5 separate regions of the Homo sapiens genome follow, and regions 1, 2, 4 and 5 are each linked to region 3. The links are contacts of gene promoters, found by promoter capture Hi-C in human tissues and cell types (Jung and others, 2019). All regions are on one chromosome and are shown on one strand. The core of a region is centred on a gene start or on the middle of the fragment in contact, and the rest is flanking DNA. Distances in the headings are between cores, read along the strand shown. Region 1 has its middle 320 kb from the start of GRASLND. Region 2 overlaps LOC124908053 (a long non-coding RNA gene). Region 3 holds the start of KIDINS220 (kinase D interacting substrate 220). Region 4 has its middle 320 kb from the start of LINC01871. Region 5 has its middle 290 kb from the start of GRASLND.

What was found. The method cuts DNA at HindIII sites, captures the fragments that hold promoters and counts their contacts. A contact is called where the count stands out against the background at its distance.
Region 1: a contact is called between a fragment that was not itself captured here and the fragment with the promoter of KIDINS220 in region 3, in 1 of the 25 tissues and cell types used here (lymphoblastoid cells).
Region 2: a fragment that was not itself captured here is called in contact with the fragment with the promoter of KIDINS220 in region 3 in 1 of the 25 tissues and cell types used here (dorsolateral prefrontal cortex).
Region 4: a contact is called between a fragment that was not itself captured here and the fragment with the promoter of KIDINS220 in region 3, in 1 of the 25 tissues and cell types used here (dorsolateral prefrontal cortex).
Region 5: a contact is called between a fragment that was not itself captured here and the fragment with the promoter of KIDINS220 in region 3, in 1 of the 25 tissues and cell types used here (dorsolateral prefrontal cortex).

Annotation. Positions count from the first base shown.
Region 1 is chr2:7,237,239-7,241,616 of GRCh38, forward strand. No RefSeq gene overlaps it. Among named protein-coding and RNA genes, the nearest start is that of GRASLND, 320 kb to the left of the region's middle. The HindIII fragment of the contact is 3,186 bases long and covers 474-3,659 here.
Region 2 is chr2:7,129,057-7,132,969 of GRCh38, forward strand. All of the region lies in intron 1 of LOC124908053 (a long non-coding RNA gene), which reads left to right. Among named protein-coding and RNA genes, the nearest start is that of GRASLND, 210 kb to the left of the region's middle. The HindIII fragment of the contact is 9,186 bases long and covers 1-3,913 here.
Region 3 is chr2:8,835,530-8,839,482 of GRCh38, forward strand. It overlaps KIDINS220 (kinase D interacting substrate 220), which reads right to left and starts at 2,084. Exons shown (of 30, transcript NM_020738.4): 1 at 1,951-2,084. RefSeq lists silencers at 2,141-2,200, 2,211-2,260. The HindIII fragment of the contact is 2,236 bases long and covers 1,424-3,659 here.
Region 4 is chr2:7,408,489-7,412,824 of GRCh38, forward strand. No RefSeq gene overlaps it. Among named protein-coding and RNA genes, the nearest start is that of LINC01871, 320 kb to the right of the region's middle. The HindIII fragment of the contact is 4,298 bases long and covers 1-3,788 here.
Region 5 is chr2:7,207,412-7,211,815 of GRCh38, forward strand. No RefSeq gene overlaps it. Among named protein-coding and RNA genes, the nearest start is that of GRASLND, 290 kb to the left of the region's middle. The HindIII fragment of the contact is 3,264 bases long and covers 135-3,398 here.

The DNA.
Region 1 (4,378 bases), core at 817-3,316, 1.6 Mb before region 3:
TTTCTAAGTCTCCATGCTTGCCTTTAGAACTATTTCCTATACCCATGTTTGGTTTTAACTCTTTGACTCTTAGCTTTATTTTATTTTTTTTAAAGTTCATTCCTATTCTATAGTAGGTTTGCCTTTCCCAAAAAGGTTTTTTTTATTTTTTTCAATTTCTTTACCTTTCTGCTGGAAAAGAATCAGCATGTGTTGTGGTATTATTATTTAAATGTTTATAGTCTGCCATTTTCCGCACACCAAGTCCCCAGCAGCGTCGAGTCAGACGGTCTCACACAGGTATCGTCTGCTCCATCTGGTCCTCGGCTTTCTCCAGGCAGGTCCCTGTATGGTGCAGCAGCTGAAGGTCCATATGGTCTCAGGTGCAGCCCCAGGTAGAGCATATTGCAGCATGCCAGTCCGCAGGCCCTGCGGCGGGAATAACTGCCGGGAGGCACACATCTGAGTGAAGTGGCCACCGCTGTGCCAAAATCAGAGGGCAGAAGGTGTTCTTGGCTTCCACGATGATCTGGACTTCCAGGACCGGTTGGGGACTGAGAAGCATACTGAATTGCAAATGTCAGTGCCCAGGCAACATCCAGAGAGAGCAAAGGAAACTTATTCTTCCCTTTACCTCTTTACCTGCTTTCAGTTATACTATGTCAGGAAAAGGATTTTGAATGGGTTAGGTGATGGAAAATACAGCTAAAAAGAAACTAATGTGCCTAAAATCACAAAGTTTCAAGTTTAGCTTTTTCTTCAAATTTGGCATTATTGTTTTAGGAGTTTTCTTCTTTGTTTCCTTTCTAAGTATCTAAGAAGAGTGTCCTAAAGGAAATCTGTATGAGAATTTGGAATTCTTTCTTTATTCTATTCTAGATTTTATCAATGAAGTCAACATAAAATGAGTGTGTTCATTAATCTTTGAAAAATAAGAATTCCTTCTGAAATTTAAAAATTCCTGATCAATGACAGTGAAGGACACAAAAAGAGATACGGTCTTAGTATATTCCAGCTGCTACAGCAAAAATACTGGGTGGCTTATAAACTACAGAAATTTATTTCTCACAATTCTGGAGGCTAGAATTCCAAGATCTAGGTGCCGGCAGATTTGGTGTCTGGTGAGGGACCGCTTCCTGATTCATGAGTGGCTGCTTCTGGCTGTATCCTCACACGGTGGAGGAGGTAATGGTCTGTCCTGGGCATCTTTTATGAAAACACTAATTCTATTCATGAGGTTGTCATCCCCATGATCTAATCACTCCCTAAAGATCTCATCTTCTAATACCGTCACCTTGAGGGTCAGGATGTCAACCTATGAGTTTTGTAGGAACACGAACATTCAGACCCACTGTGATTTTTCAGTACAAGGTGGATCCCGCTGCCCTCTCCTCAGGAGCCTCTGATCGTGCCCACTCCTGACAAAGATGGCATGTTTGGTCCTCTATTCAATGATGTTTCTTACTGGGGACATTAGGAAGCCCTTACTATCACATTAAGAAGCCCTCACTATCACATTTTACCATTTCATATTAAACTCCGAATCTTTTAAAGTAGGTTTTAAAAGTCATCTATAAGGCCTGAGACAAGCTTTATAATGAAGCTTCCAGGGAAGGGGGGTATGCAAGAAATTGGATTACATCTTTTGGTGTTAAATTGTTTTGTCTCTTTTAGAACACTTGGAATTGAGTTGAATTCTCCAAGGCAAGGAAAATATTAATGTACACCTATTGGTGAATCCTGAAAAAAGAAAAAATAAAACAAATGATTTTAATCCTCACTTTTCATGTCTCTATAAAACATGTATCAAAGGATATAATTTATTTCCAGCTTTCATAAATTCATAGTTTTGTGGGGAAAAATCCGTTTGCTTTATGAAACTGCACAGTCCAAATTGAACCAATAACTAATATCCAGGTGTATTAAAGGGAAGTTATAAATTGCTTTCACTTTCTATATTCTTCAATGAATAGGGAAAATATGGATTAAACCACCTAAATATTTAGTGATGATGTAATTGGAGAGTTTAACTCATGGAGTGGAAATCAGAAATGCAATGTTGACATTTTTAGTAGTAATTCGCATTATAGGAAAGGAAGACATTCTTTTTTTTTTTTTTTTCTTGATAGGGTCTCACTCTGTTACTGAGGCTGCAGTGCAGTAGTGCAATCACAGCTCACTGCAGCCTTGACCTCCCCAGCCTCAGGTGATCCTCAGCCTCCCAAGTAGCTGAGACTACGGGTGCATGCCACCACACCTGGCTAATTTTTTGCAGAGATGGGGTTCCACCCTGTTGCTCAGGCTTGTCTTGAACTCCTGAGCTCATGCAGTCTGCCTGTCTCGGCCTCCAAAAATGCTGGGATTACAGGCATGAGTTACCATGCCTGGCCTCAGGAAGATGTATTCTTTAAGTTATAAGTGATGTAGGATTATGAAATAATATAAAAGTAAATAGACAAAGCAAAATAGAATAATATGAAAATACAATAGCTGCCATTTTTATAATTATCCCCAATTTACAGATGAGGAAACTGAGGCTTGAAGAGAATACTTAATTTGACTGATACCATAAAACTAGTAAGTAGAAGAACAAGAATTAGAAGCCAATTCTGTCTCCAATACCTGCGTTCTCACCACTACACATATTGCTTTCTCCTAAAGAAGCAATGGTGTCCCCTACCTGAGACAGGCAGTGCTAATTTGTCAATACCTGTAAGAAAGAAAAGAAGGGTCCTCAAAGCATATCAGAATATTCACATGAATGTTAGAATCATGAGATCACTGGCCGGATTCAGGCCAACCTAAAGAGTAAAGTTTTTAAAGAAAAAGTAGATCTATCTAAGAAAAAAAAATGTATAAACTTGGATTTTGAAGCTAGTTTTAAAAATGAATATCCAACAATTAATTACAATTTAAATTTGATTTGGGTGTGCTTCTCTAGTTACTGTGCCTGTAACTGCATCCTGAGGGGTTCACGAGCGCGCGAGGGCCTGACTATGCACCTGGCTCTGGCAGCCGGGAAGCTTTGGATAATTAAAGTGGATGCAGTCCATTTTCTAAGCAGGGTACTTTATGGGATCAGAGTTAAATTTCTATGCCAAATGGTAAAACTCTGAGGTCCAGCTCACTGTGAACAAGACCCTGTTGTCTCTAATCCTCAGTCGGCTAGCATAACCCATCTCCAGCGATCAGCTCCCTTAGAAGGTAAGCTGCCTCATGTCAGTTAGTGTGGTACCCAGAAGAGAAGCATCTTTTCCTCCACTGGCTTCTGTAGGCCGAGGAGGAACTGCAATGGTTGAAAGGGTCTCTAGAGATGCCTTCAGAAGTTGGGCACAAGGCAAATGAGGGGTTAAGAGCAAAGTTAAAAAAAAAGAAGACAATTTTATATATATATATATATATATATATACACACACACATAAATAAAATTATATAATCACAGCATCTGAATACATATGCAAAGATAATTACGTAATATTTTAATATATATTTATATATAATTTTAACATTATTATATTAAAATAATTATATATAATCACAGCATTTTAGTCAATTGCTAGACAAAGTGTGTTAAATAGCAGTTTTGTAGTTTTATTGAAATTAAATCAGAATTAAGGTGATTTTAAAAAAAGAAAAGTGTTAAAAGAAAAACTTCAGTTTAATTAAATTTAAAGGAGTTTAAATGAGCAATGAATGATTTGTGAATTGGGCAGCCCCCAGAATCACAGTAGATTTAGAGAGACTCCAGTGGAGTCCTGTGGTGAAAGAAAATCTGTGGACAGTGAAAGGCGAGTAACGTAAAGAAAATGGAAGTGAGGTACAGAAACAACTGGATTGGTTACAGTTTGGCGTTTGTCTTATTTGAGCACAGTTTGAGCATTTGGTGAAATTAAGGTTAAATATAAATATAAATACATTTCATAATTCTGAGCAGGGAGTTTTATAATTTAAAAGGAATGCTGAGGACATCTGAGGTCCAGCTCACTGTGAACAAGCTCCTGTTGTCTCTAATCCTCAGAGTTGGCAAGCATAACCCATCTCCAGAGATCAGCTTCTTTAGAAGATAAACTGCCTCATGTCAGTGTGGTACCCAGAAGAGAAGCATCTTCTTCTCCACTGGCTTCTGTAGGCCTTGGAGAAGCTATTTCAAAATGGGCTATGTGAATAATGGGTTATGTGATTCATTTTGAATGTCAATTTGCCAACCTGGTCAGGTGGGTATTAAATTTTTTATGACATTCTAAATAGATAACCATGATATAGCAGATCTTCCAGAGCAGGGCAGGCGTCACCCCTCTAGCTACATCATCTCTAATGCTAAAACATTTAAAGAGGAAGCTTCTTTTTCTTCTAGGAGTCATTTGCCTATGAGGTCAGAATGGATGAAGCTCTGGAGTCA
Region 2 (3,913 bases), core at 20-2,519, 1.7 Mb before region 3:
TTTTATATTATTTTTGTAGTCAGAGTATTTTAGAAGGAACTAATATAGGTTGGAAAATTTGCTAACTTTGGGGTGACTTTGCAAAGAAATTTATAGGATCAATAAAAATATATGTATCTCTTTGATTTTACTTTTGTAACTCTTTCAACAAAGATATAGGTGAGTGGATGGAATATATGTTCATATATCTTCAACTATATTGTCTTGAATCAAGAAAACTGTCTTGTCTTCACAAAGAAACACTGGAAGATGCACTTCCTGTTCTTTTTCAGCACTATTCAAAATATTTAATAGCTGGTGCAGCACTGAGCACCAACTAGTCAGAATGGCTGTGGTTTTTGTTTTATGTTTTTTAAAGCTATTTGTGATAATATTTGCATGCTGGTGGGATAGCAGGGGAGCACTGGTGTAGGAACACAACTCCCAGTAAAATCACTGGGTTTCGAAGAACATCTTATTTTTCTTTTTTGGAGCAGGAAAACTATAGTAATGTAGGACTCCTGCTTAGGCAATGTCTTAGTTCATGCTGCTATAACTGAATACTATTGACTAGGTGACTTAAACATCAGCAATTGATTTCTCACAGTTCTGGAGGCTGGAAATCCAAGGTCAAGGCACTGGCAGATCTGGTGTTTGGTGAAGTTGCCCTTCCTGGTTTGCAGATGGCTGTTTTATCATGGTACCTTTACGTGATGGGGGGTCGAGGAGAGTAAGCTCCCTTATTTCTTCTTATAAGTGCACCAATCCCATTCACTGGACTCTACCCTCATGACCTAATTACTTCCCATAGGCCCTACATCTGAATACCAACACATTAGGAATTTCGGCTTCAGCATTTGAATTTGAGAGTAGAGGAACAGCACACACACTCCATTCATAGCAGCAGTGCATAACTTGAAGTTTGAATTGATTTCTATTCCCCTGTCTAGTGGATTGTCTTTAGCTGGATGATGATGGTCTGGTCCATTTAGTAACATCTCTGGATTCTGTTAGCAGATTTGAATCTCAGTTGCAGCCCTCAGCAACGACATGTTCTTGGGCAAATTATTTACACTTTAGAGGCTTAGTCTCCTAAACCACAAAATCGGGGCAATGTTATTTATCTTGCCCAATTGCAGTGCAGTTGAGACAGTACAAAACATGCAAGATGCCTGCATGGTCTAGCAAAAGTAGAGACTTTGTAGTGGTTCTTCTTATAAATATTAATAAAACAAAGTTAAAGTTGGCTTTTCAATAAAATCCTGCTTCCCTTGGAGGCAGTCTTTGAATGTGAAATAGTCTAAAAAACAAGCTAATTCTGTAGCCAGTGCAAATATTAATTAGCAGTCTAGCAAGAAGCAGGTCACAATGCTGAATGTCAGTGTGCTAAAATGTCTGCTAGTTTCAAGACAGTAGCACCTTGCTAATTTGTCATCAAGGGGCCCCTGGAGCTAAGAGAGATGACAAAAATCTGTGTGAAGAAGAAATTCTCACAGATTAAATCAAACTTCTGCAGTTTTATAAAAATGTGCTACTTTTGTTAGCTTTGCTTTGGAGTTTTTAATGCTATTCACATAATTGGCAGTGTTCTTCTAGAGGTGAACATTTACTTCTTCAATTACAAAAATTGGTAAATATTGTTTTTCCATCTAAAGGGGCAAAAGTCTGCACATTGTGGACCTGACACTAGAGACTTAATCCAACAGAAATTTCTCTCTGAATTTTGGTTGAACCATCTAGACATTTTCACCTGGCTCTGTCATCAAAATGAACACATTATGTTACTTTATCAGAAGAATTTAAAGATGCTTTGGTATTGTCACATAAGAATAGAGAAGTTTAACAGATTAAACCTAATGAGAAAGTTCACATTTTCAGAAGTAGATATTATGTGTTGAAAAGAGCCAACATTTTGAATTCAGATAATTCTCAGTGTCATTTCTTATTTTAGACTCGGTATATGAACTTGGGCCAGATACATAAAATAGGGAAAATTTTTCCTGCCTTATAAGGTTGATAGAGGTGAAAAGTGCAAACTGCTGGAACATACAAGACATAATTTTTCTTACAGATGTCTTTTAATATCACTGGAAAGGGAAAAACAGTCTCAGGTAGCAATTATCTCCTTGATTACAACTTTTCACCATCACAAATATTTAGAGACTTAGAGCTTCCCAGCAGTACCTGCAAAGGCCTACTCAAGACAGACAGGTACTCAGTTTTCAAACAGCAACTTGGTGGGAATTCAACTTACCAATATTTTGGGGTAGGAGCTTGGCTTTTCCAAGTGGCCTAGTGCACAAGTCTCAAGATAGATACGCTGTTAACAAGTAGGGCTTGGATTTGAAGTCTTATTCAGAGTGTTAGAGTAAGCACATTCCATATGCGTACTCTAAACCAGAATAAAAACCCTGGCAGGCTCTGCAGGATCTCACACCACCACGTTGCTCCTTTTGTTGATAGAAGACCTGCTTCATACCAACAGTACCAACATTTTAGGTGGGAGGCAGACCTGGGCTGAGGAGGCAATGCCACGCTGTTTAAATGTGAGAACCTGGGACCTAGGCTCTGTCTCAGTTCTGCCTGCAAACTTGAACAAGGCGTGCAGTTTCTCTGTAGTAAATTTCCTGATCTGCCAGGCCTCTCAGAGCTTGCCACTCTGCTCCCTGATCCTACAGTTCAGGAAAATGCATCTGTGCAAGTCTAGGTTTGCGTTGGAAAATTGCTCCTTCAATAAAGAAATAACAAAGGAGTGACTAGCTTGTAGATGCTACTGTATGAAAGCTTTCAGTAGTCAGAAACAGCATATTCTAACTGGGCTCATTTACATGTTTATTAGAGTTTATACTAAAGGAGACTCGACTGACAGTTTTGCCAGTGGGACAGTCTTCTGCTATACATGTCTACAATTTACATTTTCCCTGTTTTTGGCAAACAATACAATTCTCCAATTGAGACATTTATGTTCTATAACACTTTTTGTGTTTTTTTGGCCATAATTAGTATTAAGATGCTCTCGTTTACCTCCCAATGTTAATGCATAATTATGCACACTTAATACTTTGTTTTTACTTATAAACGTTGGTTATAAAGGTTTACTAGTCATTTTTACAAAGTTCTTTAGAGTAGTCAACTTCTTTGTTCCAATGGGAAATTATTTATAACCCCAAGCCATAAAATAGATAATAACATCTAACATTTTTTCAGTGCACGTTTTGTGTCTGACCCTTTACTAAGATATTTAACTCATATAATCCTCATAATAAATCTACAAGTTTAGGAAGGTAGCCTTATTATTCCCAATTTATAGATGAAAAAAACCAATGCAGTAAGATATTAACTGTCCTGTTGAAAGCTATAAGGCTTGTGAGTGGTAGAAGATGCAATTGAACCCAAGCAGTCTGGGTCCAATGTGGGTAGAACAACTATGCCATGTGTCTTTCCACAAAAAGTGGAGTGAATTTTTTTGAAACAGGTTTGGGAGCCACAAGTCCTGGGCTCTTCAAAGTCCCCCCTGGGGCAGTCCTCCTGGAGACATTACCCAGTGCTGGAGCAGCCCAGGTCTCTCCCTTGGCCCTTTCCTTCTCTCTACAGATACACTACTCCTTTGCTGTTCTTCCCATCTTGTTGCTTTAAATAACTTCTGTAATCTTGAGTATATATTTCAGCCTCCCTCCACTGAACTCCAGACTTCTCAATCTGTCTACCTGACAGCTTTTGTTGGATATTCAATAGGCATCACCACATAACCTATCCAAAACCGAGGCCTCGTTCCTCTGTTCCTACACAGAACTGCCACCTGCATCTCAGGGGATGAGAATCCCTCTTTGCAGTTTCCCAAGCCAGAGACCAGGAAGTGCATCATGTTGCATTTCTTTCTGCTTATGTGGCAAATCTCAGCAGACTCTTTTCAAAATAAATCCAGAATTTGAAA
Region 3 (3,953 bases), core at 834-3,333:
ATATGAACAGAAAAGAGACTCCTCCTAAGTAAGAGAACAAATGTGGCCCCTAAGAGGAGGTCAGGGCTGCAGTGAGCCAAGATCACACCACCTGCACTCCAGCCTGGGCAACAGAGCCAGACCCTGTCTCAAAAAAAAAAAAAAAAAAAAAAAGTTGCCCCAGGGAGATGTAGAAAATGGAGGTACCTGGGATCCTGACTTCTTTCTGACTCTCATTCAATCCTATTATCTCCTTTTCCTTGAAGTAAAAGGTTTAAGTTTCTACTGTCTTCTAAACAGCCCTGACAAATACAGTAGCACATAAAATGGAGAAACTGACCGTTCTTGAGCAAAAGCAGGAAGAAGGGGATGGCACATTCATACATGATCCTATAAAAATTAATCTGGCAGTGTATGTGACCCAGACTGGAAAAATACAAAGAATCAGGGCCCTAGATACCAGTCAAGGAATCACCAGACAGTACACAAGAGAGGCAGTGGGAATAGAGAAGAAATGAGGGATATTAACTTGAAAAATATAAAATCCCTGACATTTGAACTTTCTGAACTACCAAAATATCCAGAAGAGATATTCTGGATATAAAGATAAAACTATGTGACTGGTTGGAAAAGAAAACAGGTGGAAGATGACCAGATGCCCAGCATAGGTGACTGAAGAATGGAGCTGCCCTTAACCAAAAAAAAAAAAGCAGGAGAAAGAGCAGACTTTTCTCTACTTAAGTTATGCCTCCTCCCTTCCACCACCCCAGCTGGGCGAATGGGGCTTTGGCCAGGCTGAATTTGAAGTGTCCCAAAAGAACTAGGTTGGAGAAACCCACCCAATACTTGGAAAAAGATACCGTTCACACTGTGTGTGAATGATCTGGAAATTATTCACACAAAGGGTGTAGAACAAGGATTCTCAAACTTGTGTGCACCAAAATTATTTGGGAAGCTTGTCAAATACACATATCCCTTGAGCTCCTCCCCGGGAGAATCCCATTCCCTAGATCTGGGGTGGTGCCCAGAAACTGACATTTTAACAAGCACCCCAAAATGATTCTGATGAAAGTAGTCCATGCTAGTAAAGCTAGAAGAGAACAAAGAACACACCTGGCCACGGCATTTCCCAACCTGGGCTCTGCACTCAATACCCCACGGTGGTTTAAAAAGGTGTAGATGTCTGGTCCTCAGTGTTGTCAAAATGTGGACAGGAACGAACCTGAAGGGGTGATTCCCGAGCCACACCTCAGGCCGAAGGAATGGGAATCTCTAAAACGCTAAGAAATCTACATTTTTAACAAGCGCCCATAGGGAGCAGAGATGGCTGCATAGTTATTCATAAAAAAATTTTTCATCGGTTTAAACCTGTCAACTTGAAAGAATAAAAATTCCAACATTACAAAGTGATGAAGAAATTATTTCCCTATAAATAAATCTTGGAGGCGTGGAAATCAATGGCTTGCACTATTTTGCCAGGCGTTTAAAAGCCTGCACAGGACAATGGAGCAATGGAGCCCACGATAAAAGCAAGGGAGAAAACAACACCTCCCGGCCCGTGGAAGCCTAGGAGGAGGAACCTAGAAAGACTAGCGGTACCAGCTAAGGGGGCTCTCAAGGTGGTGGATGTGCCAGAGGCTGCTTGGCAAAAGAAAAAAAACGGTTTTACCAACACCCTTCACCCCAACCCACCCGAGGGGCCCCTCAGGAGACAGACCACCAGAGACTCCAAGGTCGGAGACCTTCCCGGCGCTCCAGGAAACGCGGACTCGCCCCGAAAGCCGGGGCCCGAGCGTCCGGGGCCCGCGCCATGCCCTCCCCGGGACCCCCGGTCCGAGCTCGCCCCTTCCGCGCACTCCTCGGCTGTCCCACCTCCCCGCCCGACTCCCCGAGCCCGGCCTCGCCCCCGACTCCTCCCCAATCCCGCGGCAAAGCTTCGCGGACCGGCCTCCACACTGACGGTCTCCCAACCTGGTCCTCAGCTCCGGCGGAACGGGCCCGCTCGGCTGCAGGCGATGTCAGAGGACGGGGAAGCAAGAGACGGCGACTGCAAGCGCGTCGCCCTCACCACACCCGGCGGCCATATTCTTCCCTCTCCGCGAACTGACAGATCACGTGCCCTGGGTAGGGGAGGGACTCCGGGTTGCCACGCCCCCTGGGCGTGGAGGGGAGGGGCGGGGCGGGGCGTAGAGCAGGCGGGGCTGGAGGGGCCGCGGGGCGGGGACACCCAGGACAAGCGCCCCAGGCAAGGTTTTTCAGTGTCAATGTCACTCTTATTACAGTTAATTTATTATCCCTATTTTCCATTATAATCAAGCTTATTCAGAGAAATAAACATCAATTATATCTTCAGAAGAAACTGCACATACATAAGAAATGAAAGCCCGCTCAGCAGCCTTCTTCCGGATCCAGGAGCGAGACCTCTGCCTTTCGCGGGGCCTGTAGTTCACACTCCTTCCAGGTCTCCCAGCACCTCCCCTCACCTCCTTCAGCCTCCACATTCCTAGGCCTTGCTGCCAACAAGCGTCAATCTTGATTTTTGAAAAGGTCCAAGGATGATTACGACGTGCGTAGGTTGCGAACCATCGAAAAGCACCCACCAATGTGTCAACCTGGCAACTCAGGAAAAAGCCAATAAGGAGCCTGACTTCATCAGAAGTTGGTGCGGGGTGGGGACAATGGCTCACTCCTGTAATCCCAGCATTTTGGGAGGCCAAGACGGAGGATCACTTGAGCTCAGGAGTTTGAAACCAGCCTGGGCAACATGGAGAGACCTCTTCTCTACAAAAAAAAAAAAAAAAAAAAAAAATACAAAAATACAAAACTTAGCCAGGCGTGGTGTTGCACACCTGTAGTCCCAGCCACTTAGGAGACAGAGGTGAGAGGATCACTTGAGCCCAGGAGTTCGAGGCTGCAGTGAGCTGAGATCACACCACTGCACTTCAGCCAGGGCAACAGGGCAAGATCCTATCTCCAAACAAACAAACAAACAAACAAAAACGGAAGTTGGTGTGCCCCTCATGAAACAAGGAGCGAACACCCCAACGTGTACAGTGGAGTCCTAAATGGTGTGATTTCTTCGATAATGACTTGCTAAGGCCAGCCACTGTTGTAAACAGGGCAGGGTGGGTCAGGCGTTGGGGGTTAGAAGTATGGTAGGTGTATTAGCCCGTTTTCACACTGCTATAAAGAACCACCTGAGACAGGGTAATTTATAAAGAAAAGAGGTTTAATTGACTCACAGTTCTGCATGGCTGGAGAAGCCTCAGGAAACTTAAAATCATGGCGGAAAGGGAAGCAAACACGTCCTTCGTCACATGGCTGCAGGAAGAGAGGTGCCCAGCAAAAGGGTCAAAAGCCCCTTTTACATCCAACAGATCTCGTGAGAATTCACTCACTATCACGAGAACAGCACGGGGGAAACCGCTGACGTGATCCAATCACCCCCGACCAAGTCCCTCCCTTGACACGTGGGGATTATGGGGAATACAATTCGAGATGAGATTTGGGTGGGGTCACAGAGCCAAACCATATCAGTAGGATATAAGGATGAAGCCAACCTTAGAGTAGGGGAGAAGACAAGGAAACAGGTTAAATGTGCGTTATTTAGCACAGCCTTTCTGAGTCCTGACCATGTCCTAGGCACAGTGCAGTAAGGAGGTAAGCACAGAGGATGGAGTTACCAACTCTGCTTGGGGTCCACTAGGAAGGTTCACAAAAGAAGGGACCCCCCCCCCCCGCACCTCCAGCTGTATCTGAAGTATAGTTTGTCCATCACATCAGTTGGATGGGGCTAGGAAGAATGTCCAGGTCGGGGAACAACACTTTGGAAAAGAATAGAGATGAGAAGGAGGGTGGCCCAAAGTTCCAGGAACTGTCAATATTTGCCAGCCTTGGGGCTGGGGTGGCAGCATGGGAGGGGGCAGTAGATGGAGCAGGGGTCAGCCTCTGAAGGGCCTTGAGTGTTAAGTACC
Region 4 (4,336 bases), core at 390-2,889, 1.4 Mb before region 3:
TATTTTAAGAGAAGCTTTTACTTATGAGAATCTTGCAGCACTATTCCAAGTGCCTGTAGCTATTCCTCTCTCTCATACTCTCTGCCTTTCTCTATTTTTCTCACACCTCGCTCCCTGATTTTATTTAAAGAATGGCAATCTATCTTTCCTTCCCCCTCCCTCCTTTATTGTTATATTTTCTTACTTTCTACCCCCTGGGACCCTGAATGGAAGAATTTTCATTTTCCAAGCTGGTGCTAGGGGCCAAGTCCTGTGCCCTGGATTGACACACATCATCTCACGTATTTCACAGGATGCACAGCCCTGGCAGGTGTTCTTATCTCCACTGGGCAGATGGGAAATGAAGGCTTGGGAAGCTGAAGGGCCTGCCCGGCTCAAGGGCACAGCACTAGACTAACGGTGGTGCCACTGAACTTGGGGACATCCATGTGTATGCAGGCCATCTTGGAGGATGAAGGCCTTTGCGCTCACTCTTCCACTGATGGAGACCACTATGTGTAGTTAATGCCCTGGGTAGCAAGCCCTGGCTTCTGCTAACCGAGGCTCACCACATGGGAGACCCAATGGGTCATTTCATCCTGAGGAAGCTCCCGAGGGCCTAAATGTCAGCCTGCACTGGCTCCTTTGTTCCATAAGGCAAGGAAACTGAGTCCCAGAGAGAAGGTCACGGCCTTCCCAAAGCAACACATCTAGCAATACGAAGTGTGTGATAATGAGATCCTTGAGCTCTGTGTGCAGCATGCATTTCCTTATCACCTAACACTCAATTGAAGACCCACACTGGCCCCAGAATGAAGAAGTAAACCACTGATTAATTCACTAAATATTAGTTTACAAGAACTTCTTAAAGTACATGTGTTATATCAAATGAGGTAATAGACATTTACATTTAACATACTATATGAAAGCTTTTTCAAATTATACATTAGTTAAATACATGTTATTTTGGTTGTTGTAAATGTGAACATTTAAGAACAAAAGTGAATTAAACTTAATCCTTCCATCATAAACAAATGTCAGCTGGCTTGGGTACCTTTGGCTCATTTTTATCATGTTTGTTGAGAGCTCTGTCTTTTATCAAAAGTTGAATTTGCATTACTATTGATAAATCCTCTACAAGATTTTTCAAAGAGTTCTTTAAATTTTGTTGTAATTTCAGACACAATATTCAAGCACTGAACTCTTCAGCCCAGTGATTTTCCTGTGGATTACTCATCAGAAGATACACACTTACTATAGTAACTCCAGAGGCTATAAATCCCTGGAAAGTTCATTCGAATGAAATTTCTATATCCTCATTTTCCTAGTACCAGGATAGAAAGTATTGAATATTTCTGAAAGTCTCTCTCACTGCAGAATAGCAGGCAAAATTAAAAAAGAAAAAAACCAAAAAAAACACACCAAGATTCTTGAGTAGAGAAGAGCTAGAGATAGGCTGATATTTTTCATTCCATAATTCCTGGTGAAACTGCTTAGCCTAAAGGTAGTCATGAGAACACTTAGTCCCAATGTATACTGTATCTCTGAGATGGTAACTGCGAAAGAGTAGTTGTACATTTGGTGGCCACTAAGCAGATATCATGAGCATTACTGTTTTAATACTTACTTCATTTGCTCAGAATTCATGCTCAGCATCAGTGTTTGGGGATCTGTTTTTAATTATGAAAACTGAGGTCCTATATTGCTTTTGTTCTTCTCTTTTTGCCACATTTCTGCTGCAGGGGAAAAATGTGCTCTCAACAGCCTGAAAACCTGGCTGAGGACTCCTTCCTAGCTCAGCCCCTGATGCTCATAGGGAAAGGATCAACATAAAATCATTTCTGTTTCAAAGTGCAACTTACTCCTCATAATAATTGCTATCCTAAATAAGGTGGCAGTTTTTTTTTCTCCTACACAGTTGGTATTTGGCATTTAACAATGCAACGCCTTACCTCATTCACTGCCTAGACAATGAGAGCTTTAAAGTGTTAGAGTCATGGAAGACTTTCTGAAATGTCTTACCTTAATTTACAGTGAGGAGCTAAGAAAGGTTGGCCAGGAAAAGGCAGAGGCAAAATCCTGAGTCCAGAGTCATAGTCTAGCAGCAGGGGCCCCTGGATGCACCATTGCTTTACACACATGAGGTGTTCCACATGGATCATGTAGCAGTTGGGCAAAGAAGGTGTCCTCCTTGTATTGTAGCTGATAAAGCAGAAGCTTAGAGATGCAAGTGACTTGCTCAATTCCTGCTTCCAGCACATTCAGGTATTCTCACACCTGGATCTCTGCTCTCTTTCCTCTTTCTGCATCTTAATTCCTTTCCAGATTTGTGCCCATTTTGCTTCAGATTTGGTGTCACACTCATAGAGATTATTGGATTGATCTATTACTCAATATTCTCCCAGAGAGAATTGCAGCCGGCAGGAACATTCATTGTAGACCCAGGTGTTAGTGAACAAGCTCTACCTTCAACCCTGTTCTGGACTAGCAAGTAATGAATTACACATTTAATTTCAGTACTCCAGTTGACCCTTGATTCCCTCAGTTGGCAGAATCCATTTTCCTAGACTTTAGAACAAGAAAGAAACACTTGTTCTCTCCCAAAAATACCCAAGTCAACAAATGAAAACATGAACCTCAAAGGATGACTTCAAGCCTAGAGTCTCGAGGAAGAGGACAGAGTGGTTTTGGGAGTTATTTAACCACTCTAACCATATTTCCTCTAATAAATGAGTATGCTAGTGCTTAATATACCACATTCTTTTGAGAACTATTTAAGTTAATGCACTCAAAGTTGCTAATATTCTCACCAGTGCAATGGAGAGCATTGTAGTACTTTGAGATGACATTGCTTTCACCAACTGAGCCAATCCTACTCCTACGTTTGTTTCTATTGCCATGTAAGTTAATGTAGGTTTAAAATCTCAGGCTTCCAAGAAAGAGTACTAGAGTCTCAGGAACTACCCTCATTTCTACCTTGCACTTCCTATACTCCATGCCTAATTCTCTAGGTTCTATTTGAGATATGACTCCTATATGTAACCACACTCTCCAGCCCTGATCTCAGTTTCGCTGTGGAGTTTTAAGGCCTCTATTGTCAAGTATTCATTATTATTTCACATGTGTGCAATTGCAGTTGCCAGCAGTGTCTTGCAACTCTGACCCCCTTTTTTAAATAAATATTTTAATTATGTTTTGGGTTTCTAGTAAAATTGAACAGAAGGTGCAGGTATTTGCCATATTTTCCCTGCCCTCACATATACATAACCTCCCACTATCAACATCTTTTACCAGAGTGGGAAATTTGTTACAATTGATGAACCTATATTGACACATCATTAGCACCCCAAATTCATACATGCCATGGCTTTGGATAAATCTGTAATGGCCTGTATTCACCATTATAGTATCATACAGAACAGTTTCACTTCCCCAAAAAATCCCCTGTGATCCACCATTCATCATTCCCTCTCCCCAGCCCCTGGGAACAATTACATTTTTTTCTGTCTCCACAGTTTTGCCTTTTCCAGAATGCCATTTACCTAGAATCATATCTTATGTAACCTTTTCAGATTGGCTTCTTTTACTTAGTAATGTGCATTTATGTTTCCCCCATGTCTTTACATGGCTTAAAGTTTTTTTTTTTTGTATTAAATAGTATTCTATTGTCTAGATTACCAGTTTGTGCATTTACCTACTGAAGGACACCTTGGTTGCCTCCAAGTTTTGTTAATTATAAATGAACCTGCTATAAACCCCATGTGCAAGTATTTTTGTGGACATAAGCGTTCAATTCATTTGGATCAGTGTCAAGGAACATGATTACTGGATTATATGGTAAAAGTATGTTTAGTTTTGTAAGAAACTGCCAAACTGGCTTAGAAAGTGGCTGTGCCATTTTGCATTCCCATCAGCAATATATGTGAGTTCCCAATGTATGAGATTTGGAGTACCAAATCCTCATCAGAATTTCATGTTGTCAATGTTCTGAATTTTGGACATTCTAATAGGTGTGTAGCAGTATTTCATTGTTTGAATTTACATTTCCCTAATTATATATGATGTGGAGTATCTTTTCATATGCTTACATGACATCTGTGTATCTTCTTTGGCAAGGTGTTGGTTAAGATTTTAGGACACTTTTATTGAATTGTTTATTTTCTTACAATTTAGTTTTAAGAGTTTTTTGTATATTTGGGGTAGCGGTCCGTTATCAGAGATTTCTTTCTGCAAATATTTCCTCCCAGTTTGTGGCTTGTCTATTCACTCTCTTGACAATGAATTCACAGAGCAAAAATATTAATTGCAATAAAGTATAGCTTATCCATTTTTTCTTTCAAAATTGTGGCTTTTGTGT
Region 5 (4,404 bases), core at 517-3,016, 1.6 Mb before region 3:
TGATTAGAGCGTGTTTTGGGGTCATACAACCTGAATCAAATCCCAGGTCCTCTGCCTGCTATTCTGTAACCTTAATAGATGTTAAGTATGAGCCACAGTGTCAGGAGCCTATGACGCAGTGCATCCTAAGTGCTGAGTGGCACAGGGGATGTGAGTGGCACAGGGGATGATGTGAGTGGCACAGGGGATGTACTCTACAAACGCGGGCGGTTCCTGCTGCATTACTGAGTCTGCACTGGTAACCACAATGCTGAACTCACGGGCTGTGCTCCAAGTGCTATAGCAAGGCACCAGGCTCCATGTTGATGAGGCCTGTGTCTCACTCACTTTCTACTCGCAGACGCCTGTGGAGTCATTGAGCCTGCATTGCATTTTGACCTCAATGTTCTACTTAGTGCAAGAGTCCTGGCTGCAGGGCCCGTGGAAAGGATAACTTGGCCTCCTTAGAAGGCTTGCCAGGCAGTCACGGAACTCACCGCCTCACAGTGCTGTTGATTTCATCCAGTAAAACTTCCCTTTTGGAGAGTCTGTTTTTTATTTTATGAAGAAATCTTTATCCTCTCTCCAAATCAGTGCGTTTACTGACTTCTAGGGAAAAACAGAATTCTCCCTCCACCATATGACGGTCTTTGAGCATCTCAATGATTTCCTTTGGTTAAATACATTGCGGTGCATTTTATTGTCATTATTTTGAATATGCAAAGTCCTCTCTTCCCCCTGTCCCTGCTCCCCAGTTAGCATGTGTGTATTTAGACACAGAAAACTGGCCCCACTGTTAAGGATGAAATAAAAAGAAGAAGACAGCAGAGAAACTTCAGCTTTGCAATTCGAGCCTGGCCACTGCATGGTTCCAACCAGTCCCCATGGCCCTACGCTGCATCAGGCCACTTCATCTGCTGACAGCTGGGGAAGCTCCAGGTAGCAGATCTCCGTGCTTCCTCCCACTCCCACCGCCTCTCTGCCCAATCCCGTCTGTGGGAGCAGAGCCACACCAGCCAACTGCAGAGCTGACAGGCCTCAGGGGCCGGGGCAGTGGAGGTTTCAGAAGCCCACTGTCGTGTGTGCCATCATTAAAGCACTCTCTGTTGGCTGTCTCTAAAGAATCTTCTTTTGGAAAGGTGTAAACATGTTGGCCCATCAGAGGAAGCCATAAATCTCCCTGTATACATAGCAATACAGTTGCACCAAACGGAAGAAGAGCTCTTGCCAATCTCATGTTTCATTTCAACCTGGCCATCTGGGTTCAGACAGAACTTGGGCTAACAAGCTGTATACACCCACAGCAAAGAAGCATTCCACTGAATCTTCCAAGGCTACTAAATTTTTCATGCCAACATTTTTCAGTACACTATGATGGCAGCTACCCCTTCCCCTAATTTCTCCCCAAATTTAGCCCTAAAGACTTGCTATGGAATCTTCTTATGCAGATAATGAGAGCTAAGTCTACTGAGAGTCATGCAAAAAAAAAAAAAAAAAAAAGTGGCCAGAGTTCTTACCAAGAATATAGGCCAGAAGACCCCGCGTTGAGTTTACATGCTCTGATGCAGCAGCTGAGCAGGAGGCCGTTCTGATCTTCAGATAAACTCTCGGGTCGTTCCAGCATCAGGATAGCATCAGATTCTGTTTAAACTTTACTGGCTAAATTAATCCAGGGTCAATCATTGATGAGGCAGGTTCTACAGTGCTAAAGAAATCTCAAGAATATGATAGTAACCAACTTATATTCAGCGTTGAGGGTTCTTTATCTCAGATAAAATCCTACACTAGGCCGGTCTCAAGCCAGTGGTAGGTGCCTCAGTGGGGCCATGGCCCCTCTGAATCCAAGCTTGCCCATGTGACCCCATCTGCTGCTGAGAGCAAATGTTCATCTGGCATGCTGGAGGTGCAGCTTCAGAGGGCTTCCTGTGGGCTCGGATTACAGAAGACAGGTATAGAATATTTATATTGGTTCATTCAGCCTCCCAAGCAACTTTCTGAAGCAACCATCTATCATCCATCAAATAGATGCTAGTTCTGTGGGGTTTATAAAGAACTATAACAATGGTTAAGTTCAAATAATACAGCTGGAATATGCACATCTACTTGTTAACCCATTTATGCTGGAGGGTGCACTTTTTTTGTGTGTGTGAAAAATCAGACCTTGGTGATGACCTTGAGCAGTATGACATAAATAACTCCCACAAGCTTAGCGTTCCAATAATGGAACGCTAAGCATAAGTGGGTTAAAACCGTGCAAGGCAGGATGTTTTAACCAGATAACAACCAGCACAGAACCCTTGCTCAGAGTTCAGAGGAGGAGAGAGAGGTCTGTGATCCAGCAAGCAGAGAAGGGCTCATGGGGTGAGCCATGTGCATTAAGTCCTAAGGGAGGAATCTGAATAGAGGCCAGAGTGAGAAGCTCCTCAAAGAGCTAGGGTGTGGTCCTCTGCCCTGCTTCCCTGAATCCCTCAGAGCTGAAGGAGGTGAGCCAGGGCTTTAGCTGTTCTCTCTGGAGCTGTCTTGTTGCCTTGCTTTCAATTGCGAGTGCTTGAAGATTAAGCTAATGAGCTTTCCTGCTGAGGGCGGTGGGGAGCCAATGCCTCTGCCCTGGCACCCAGCCCTAGTTATTTTTCTTTTAAATAAAGGAACAGGCTGTCTAACATCAGGTGGAGACCTAGGTGCCTTGCACAGTCTCAGGTTGGAGAACATCTTTGCCTCGGGTGACAGATGGGCACATCATACTTCATCTCCCAGACCTCTGGACCCAGCCACACTGCACATATGACACTCGAGTTGGTGACACTCTGTCATCCATTCCCATTAATGTATGATAGAACTCAATCAGTCCAGCTGCCAGGGCAGCATCAGAGCGGAGTAGCAGGAAGCAAAGAAAACCACTTGGACCCCTGCATGACCTGCATTCTTTTCCTCCCAGGCCATACTTCAGTAAGGATTTCTTGCCAGCATAGCAGTATTTTGAATTCCCAGTTGATGATGAGGTTTTGAGTTGACCATGCAATGCCATTTATCAAACCCCTGCTCCTCTTTGGAATGCTGGCAGGCATGCTACATATTGACTGTGAAGCCCCAGCAAAGCACAACTCTGTTTTTGTTCAATGCTACTAAATTTGAAGGAGGTGTGTTTGTGGGTGAGTGTAAGTTTTGAAGGAAAACATTTCCTATTTTTGTATGGTTCTGCATGTCAGGTTTTTCTTCACCATTCTGTTGTTTATTGTGCTCTTTTCATTTTTTTTTGTGCTTTGTTTTGTATCTTGTTGCATTGCAATTGAGACTGACGTCAATTTTAAGACTCTAGAATTATGTCTTTATGGTAGACTTGCAAAAAAAACGTGACAAGGTTATTGGCACAAGAAGAGACTGTGGCCTAATACCACTGACAGACCATCTCACCCATGCTCTCCCTTACTTCTTAGTAACAGGACTAATTTTATTATGTGCCTGTCTACACCCTGCATTTCCCAGCTTTTCTTTAAGCTCAGTATAGCCGTGATGCTCAGCTGTGACTAATGAGCTATAAATGTGTATTACATATGACTTTGGGGCAGCACCTTAAGATGGAGTGGGTGAGCCATATTCTCCTTCTATCCAGTCCCATATGAGAATGTGCTGCTGGGACCAGGAGGATGAGGACAGTACCTTAGCGATGGCAGAGTGGCAACCTGGGGGCATGTGGTCCTTGAAGACGTTGAGGAACCACCCTGATTAAATCTTGTGGTTTATGCCACCATCGCTTAGGTTTTCTGTTACATGCAACAAAAATTAATCCCAGCTGCTATGTCAATAACATTCCAAAGTTACCTTTACTTTACTGACAAAGTTTTCTTCATCCCCTACTCATGAAATACCTGTCCATTACATAAAGTAACCAGTGGTTCTCTCACTCCTCTTAGGATGATGACAGCCCCACTGTGACAGGGGCTCCTCTGAAGCACTGCTCTCTCTTCTTCCCCCTCGTTCTCCATCCGTCTCGGCCTTCATTCCTTCCAATATCCATCCAGTGCTTCCCATGTACCATACACTGCACCGGAAGGTGATCCTTGCACCTACGGAATTTTAACTTGGTGGAGAGAAAAGACAGAAGCATTTACAAATCTGGCAAAAGTCACAAAGAGTAGTATGAGATTTCATGTTCAGAGGTCTCCCCGAGGCTGACACAATGGAATTGAGTGATATGGTTTGGATATTTGTCTCTGCTCCAATCTCCTGTTGAAATGTGATCTTCAATGTTGGAGGCGGGGCCTGCTGGGAGGAATTTGGGTCACAGGGGACAGATCCCTCATGGCTTGGTGCTGTCCTCACAGTAGTGAGTGAGTTCTCTGAGATCTGGTTGTTTGAAAGTGTGTGGCACCTCCCCACTCTCTCTCTTGCTCTCGCTCTCCCCATGTGATAACTTGGCTCCCCACT